Regions from separate parts of the Homo sapiens genome. Here region 2 is linked to region 1. The links are contacts of gene promoters, found by promoter capture Hi-C in human tissues and cell types (Jung and others, 2019). All regions are on one chromosome and are shown on one strand. The core of a region is centred on a gene start or on the middle of the fragment in contact, and the rest is flanking DNA. Distances in the headings are between cores, read along the strand shown.

The links. The method cuts DNA at HindIII sites, captures the fragments that hold promoters and counts their contacts. A contact is called where the count stands out against the background at its distance.
Region 2: a fragment that was not itself captured here is called in contact with the fragment with the promoter of TGFB1 in region 1 in 1 of the 25 tissues and cell types used here (lymphoblastoid cells).

What each region holds. Positions count from the first base shown.
Region 1 is chr19:41,352,672-41,355,504 of GRCh38, forward strand. TGFB1 (transforming growth factor beta 1) reads right to left here and starts at 1,251. Exons shown (of 7, transcript NM_000660.7): 1 at 19-1,251. The coding sequence starts at 373. It overlaps B9D2 (B9 domain containing 2), which reads right to left. Exons shown (of 4, transcript NM_030578.4): 4 at 1,746-2,342. The coding sequence ends at 2,029. RefSeq lists silencers at 1-263, 424-503, 804-873, 1,024-1,553 and enhancers at 1,554-1,703, 1,627-2,128. The HindIII fragment of the contact is 14,181 bases long and covers 1-2,833 here.
Region 2 is chr19:40,672,265-40,674,964 of GRCh38, forward strand. NUMBL (NUMB like endocytic adaptor protein) reads right to left here. Exons shown (of 10, transcript NM_004756.5): 8 at 1,080-1,385. Among named protein-coding and RNA genes, the nearest start is that of NUMBL, 17 kb to the right of the region's middle. The HindIII fragment of the contact is 7,936 bases long and covers 1-2,700 here.

The sequences.
Region 1 (2,833 bases), core at 1-2,500:
CTGCCCCTCCGAGCTCACCGTTGTGGGTTTCCACCATTAGCACGCGGGTGACCTCCTTGGCGTAGTAGTCGGCCTCAGGCTCGGGCTCCGGTTCTGCACTCTCCCCGGCCACCCGGTCGCGGGTGCTGTTGTACAGGGCGAGCACGGCCTCGGGCAGCGGGCCGGGCGGCACCTCCCCCTGGCTCGGGGGGCTGGCGAGCCGCAGCTTGGACAGGATCTGGCCGCGGATGGCCTCGATGCGCTTCCGCTTCACCAGCTCCATGTCGATAGTCTTGCAGGTGGATAGTCCCGCGGCCGGCCGGCCAGGCGTCAGCACCAGTAGCCACAGCAGCGGTAGCAGCAGCGGCAGCAGCCGCAGCCCGGAGGGCGGCATGGGGGAGGCGGCGCCCCCCGGCACTGCCGAGAGCGCGAACAGGGCTGGTGTGGTGGGGAGGCCCCGCCCCTGCAGGGGCTGGGGGTCTCCCGGCAAAAGGTAGGAGGGCCTCGAGGGAAAGCTGAGGTCCTCAGGGAGAAGGGCGCAGTGGTGGAGGGGAGGCTTGGACCGGGGGTGTCTCAGTATCCCACGGAAATAACCTAGATGGGCGCGATCTGGTACCAGAAGGTGGGTGGTCTTGAATAGGGGATCTGTGGCAGGTCGGAGAGAGATCCGTCTCCTGGAGGAGAAAGGGTCTAGGATGCGCGGGGGCTCAGGAGACAGGCCGGGGATGAAGGCGGCGTGCAGGGGGTGCGCCCGAGGTCTGGGGAAAAGTCTTTGCGGGAGGCCGGGTCGGCGACTCCCGAGGGCTGGTCCGGAATGGGGGCGCCTGAGGGACGCCGTGTAGGGGGCAGGGAGGGAGCAAGCGTCCCCGGCGGCAAAGGGAGGCGGTCTGGGGTCCCCAAGTCCTGCCTCCTCGCGGGGCAGCGTCGCGCCAAGAGGTCCCCGCGCCTCCGGCTCCCAGCGGCAACGGAAAAGTCTCAAAAGTTTTTTTCCTCTTCTCCCGACCAGCTCGTCCCTCCTCCCGCTCCTCCTCCCCCTCCTCCCCGCAGTGGCGGGGGCGGCGGCGGCTCGTCTCAGACTCTGGGGCCTCAGGCTGCTCCTCGGCGACTCCTTCCTCCGCTCCGGGCCGAGGCCGGCCCCGCGGGCGGCTCAGAGCCGGGGGGGTGCCCCGGACGGGGCGTCCCCCCTGCCCCCGGCCGGGGCCCTCGCTGTCTGGCTGCTCCGCGGAGGGAGGTGGGAGGGAGATGGCCCAGGGCGCGAAGGGCGGCGGCGGCGGGGACCGGCTGGGTCGGCAGGGGGTTTTGAAGCCGCCCCCGGCCCCACCCAGGAAGCGCACGGGGCGGGAGCGGGGGCGGCCCCCAGGGGGAGGGCATGGGGGGGCTGGGCCACCGTCCTCATCTCGCGTGGGCGGGCTCCGAGGGGGGTCCCTTCAGCCCTGGGGGAAAGGGGGCGGGCACCCCGGCTCCGCCCCGCAAACAGGGTGCTGCCTCCTGGCGGCCAAGCGCCACCAAAGCGGGTGATCCAGATGCGCTGTGGCTTTGCGGGCGGTGTGGGTCACCAGAGAAAGAGGACCAGGCGGAGAAGGCTTAATCCGGGGGATGAGACACAGGGGAGCCGACCAGAGGAGGGGGACCCAGAACGGAAGGAGAGTCAGGCTGGGAAACAAGGTAGGAGAAGAGGGTCTGTCAACATGGGGGCCTCCGGAGGGTGTCAGTGGGAGGAGGGGGCAACAGGACACCTGAAGGATGGAAGGGTCAGGAGGCAGACACCTGTAAGAATTGCTCTCCTTTACTGAGCACCTCCCATGTGGCTAAGCAGCCTCCTGTCACTCAACACCCTGCGACCCCATACATTTACTGTCCCCAATTTACAGATAGGGAAACTGGGCCCAGAGGGACCCCGAGGTCCTAGAAAGGACAGAAGCGGTGCCATGCCTTAGCTGGGGTCAGCTCTGACAGTCTCTAGAGTCTGTGCTCTTGACCACTGTGCCATCCTCCCCCATCACTGGGTGTCCGGGGTGTGGATGGTGGTGACGTTGGAGGCAGAGTCCCTCAGCACTCCACGCCGTAGCGGTCGAAGTTGCGGAGCAGCAGGCCGATCTCCAGGTGCACGGTGCCACCAGCAGCTGTGTGCAGGCGATAGCGGTCGGCCCCACTGTAGATGGTGTCCCCATGCAGCAGCTGCGGCCCACCACCCACGAAAGCCCGTGCCAACTGTTCTCGCCAACTGCCCAGGGGCCGCCACGTGGGGCAGGCCAGCTGGTGGGTGCCCGGGCTACTGGGCACATGGCAAAATCCATAGCCTGCAAGCTGGCAGCGGCCAAAGCTGTCCTGGGACCACACCTGGAAATGGAGCCGGGGCCAGCCTGCAGGAAAGGAGAGAGAGGGGAAAGGAGGGATGGGTGGGGACCAGACTCCTGCTGATTCCCCACTCCCTGATACTCACTGGAGACCCCAGGCCCAGTCTTTTCCTCTCTGGGTTTCTGTCCCAGAGTTTCCAACCCAGCCTCCTTTCTAGGCTCCCACCGTCTTATCTATCCCCACACAGCAGCCAAAGTGATCTTTCCAAATCCATGTTACTCCCCTGCTAAGGATCCTTCCATAGCTCCCCAGTGCCCTCAGTATAAAGTCCAACCTCTTCAACATTCAAGGCCCTTCTAATCAGACCTCTGCTGAATTTCCTCTCTGTGTTATCCTCCTCCATGACCCCATGTCAGGGCAGCCCATTGCTCCTCCAGTCCCCAGGTAACCATCATGGGCCTTGTCAGGGACACCTCCTGCCTTCCCTCATGTCCCTGCCCTGCTCTCTTTGGGCCCAGGGCCTTCTTTCTTGCCCCTCTCTAATCCACCTTCCACC
Region 2 (2,700 bases), core at 116-2,615, 680 kb before region 1:
TTTCCCCCACGGAGCTCTTTGCTCACCTTACCCGTCACCTGTCCAGACCTCATGGCTCCCCTGGCCAAGTGCTAGAAGAAACAGATCCTTGTAACTCCATCTTCCCTCCAAGTAAAACAGGACCTTTATATCTCCTCTCTCTTACCACCAGCCATGGCAGACAATGCCAATCAATTATGATGTGCTGCTCCTTTTCGTGATGGGTACTGCCTCTGCTCAACTCTGTGCCTACAACAAATGTTCCTGATCCATCACTATGCCCCTGACCCCTGGGATCTCTGAGCTCACTGGTGCCCTGCATGTCATGTTTCTACTGACCAAATTCTGGGAGTCTCCCCTTTGGGTAAAAACATAACACTCTTGCTACTCTTTCTTCTCCCTTGCCCATGACACACACTGCATGGAGATCATGACTGCTAACCGATCATGATGTGTGCCATCTTTCTCGTTTCCCTTAACCACAGCAGACATTGCTAATTGATCATGACTTGTGATGCCTTTTTTGCCATCCCTTGATGCTCCCTGCCCTAGGCAGACATTTCTAATCCATCACAATCCTCCTTTCCTCAGAGCCTGAGGAATACCTGTATCCTTCACCTAGCCAGATCTCATAGGTGAATGCTTGGAGGGAGGGAGCATTAACCTGTAGTGCTTCAGTCTACTCCTGAGCAAAAACAGGCCAATGGTGTTGCTTCTCTTCTTTCCCTGGCCCATGGCAAACTTCCTTATCCATGCCCGACTTCTTTGTCCATAGCCGACTTTGCTAACTAATCATGATGTGTGTCATCTTTCTCCTTTTCCTTAACCACACCAGACATTGCTAACTGATCATAACTTGTGATGCCTTTCTACTATCCCTTACTCAGAGCAGACACGGCTTATCAATCCTGATTTGTGCTATCTCTTTCCTCTCCCTTGCCCACTGCTAATCGATCATGACATGTTCCCACTCTCTCTCCTTTGCCCATGGCAGACAGTGCAAATCAATCACAGTGTGAACCATCTCGCCTCCATCCCTTGCCCACATCAGATAGTGCCAATTGATTCCAACGCCGTTTCCCACTGGGCCCAGGGCTCACCTGTGCCCTTCACCTGGAAGTCAGTGCGGCGCTGCAGCGTGGATGGCAGCTCATTCAGCCGTAGGCTCAGCTGCCGTTTGAAAGGCGAGTTCTTCTGGCTGAGTGCTGGGAACCCACGGAAGGAGCCCTGGCGAACCAGCTGCTCCAGGGGTGCATGGCGCCGGGGGATGGCGGCCGCAGTGGTGCCTGCAGCCACAGGGGTGCCTGCCTCACCCTTCTCACCAGGGGATGTGGTGGCTGGTGTCGGGGACACGTGCCCAGGCTGGGCAGGGCCAGGAGCCACAGTGGGGGCAGCTGCTGCCTCTGCTGGAGACATGGGGGAGATGGATGGTTAGATATCTCACCATGGCATGCAAGGCCTCTCCCACCTGGTTCTCTTGATCATTCTCCAAGGCTGCCTTCCTTGCCCAGTGAGTCCTGCCCTTAAGACAAGCTAGTCAAAGCCCTGAGATATCCCTCACCCCCACCCAAGTCATGATCCCCTTCCCCAGGAGGCTCTTGGAAAACCGTCCCCCAGGCTCACCCTCTGTGTCTCTCCAGCTTCCTGCCCCTTTCTGTCTTGCCCTGCTGCTCTCACCATTCTTCCCTCTAAGACCCTCTATCTCCCTTTTTGATCACTTAACAAACACTGATTTGGTGCTGGAACAACGTATCAGGCATTGTTCCAGATGCTTTTCAAGTATTCACTCATTCAATCCACACGACTACCCATGGGGTTGATATGATTCTCATTTTACAGATGTGGAAACTGAGACCCAGCAAAGGCCCAGTGTGATGTGCCCAAGTCCTACTGCTAGGAAGGGGCAGGCTGACTCTGGACCCCATGCTCCAAATGACTGCCCGCCCTGTCTCCCTCTGACCTGTCTCTCCATATCATGTTGTCTTTCTCTGTCACTGTCTGTTCCCCTCTGTCTCCCACCTCCCAGCCTTCTTCCCACCTCAAGTAGCTCCTCCCTTCCTCCAGTCATTCTAGACATGGCTTGGATGCTTCATCCTCTGAGAAGCTTTCCAGATTGTTCCAGGCTCTCAGCCTGGCTCCCTCCACTCTGAGACTGTTCTCTGTACTCTGGGAGGAAACCTGACCTCCCCACTCAGCAGGAGAGGCAGGCTCTTCAAGGGCAGGGCTGCCCTCACCCCTGCCAAACCACAAACACACATCTACCCTCCTACCAGGGCCTCCCCGAGCTGCAGCCTGAATGCCATGGAGATTAAACTCAGGCCCAGAGAGACCCTCCCATAAGGATGTCGCCCAGTGCTGCTTCTCCCATCGTGACACAATGGGGCACCCATGCAGGCCTGGCCCAAGGCAGTGGAAACAGCCCAGGACAGGTTGGAACCAGGAAACCTCCTCTGCCTCCACTCACTGTGTGACCTCAGGAAGTCCCCTCCCCTCTCTGGGCTCCAGTTTGCCAACTAGAAACCTGGGATAAACATCTCAGTGCTACCTCCCAAGCCTCTGAGAGGGTCAGTTTAGGTAGTGAATGTTAAATGTTTTGGAATCCAACAAAAGCATGCCTGGACACAGTGGTTCACGCCTGTAATCCCAGCACTTTGAGAGGCCAAGGTGGGGGGATCAGTTGAAGCCAGGAGTTCAAGACCAGCCTTGCCAACATGGTGAAAC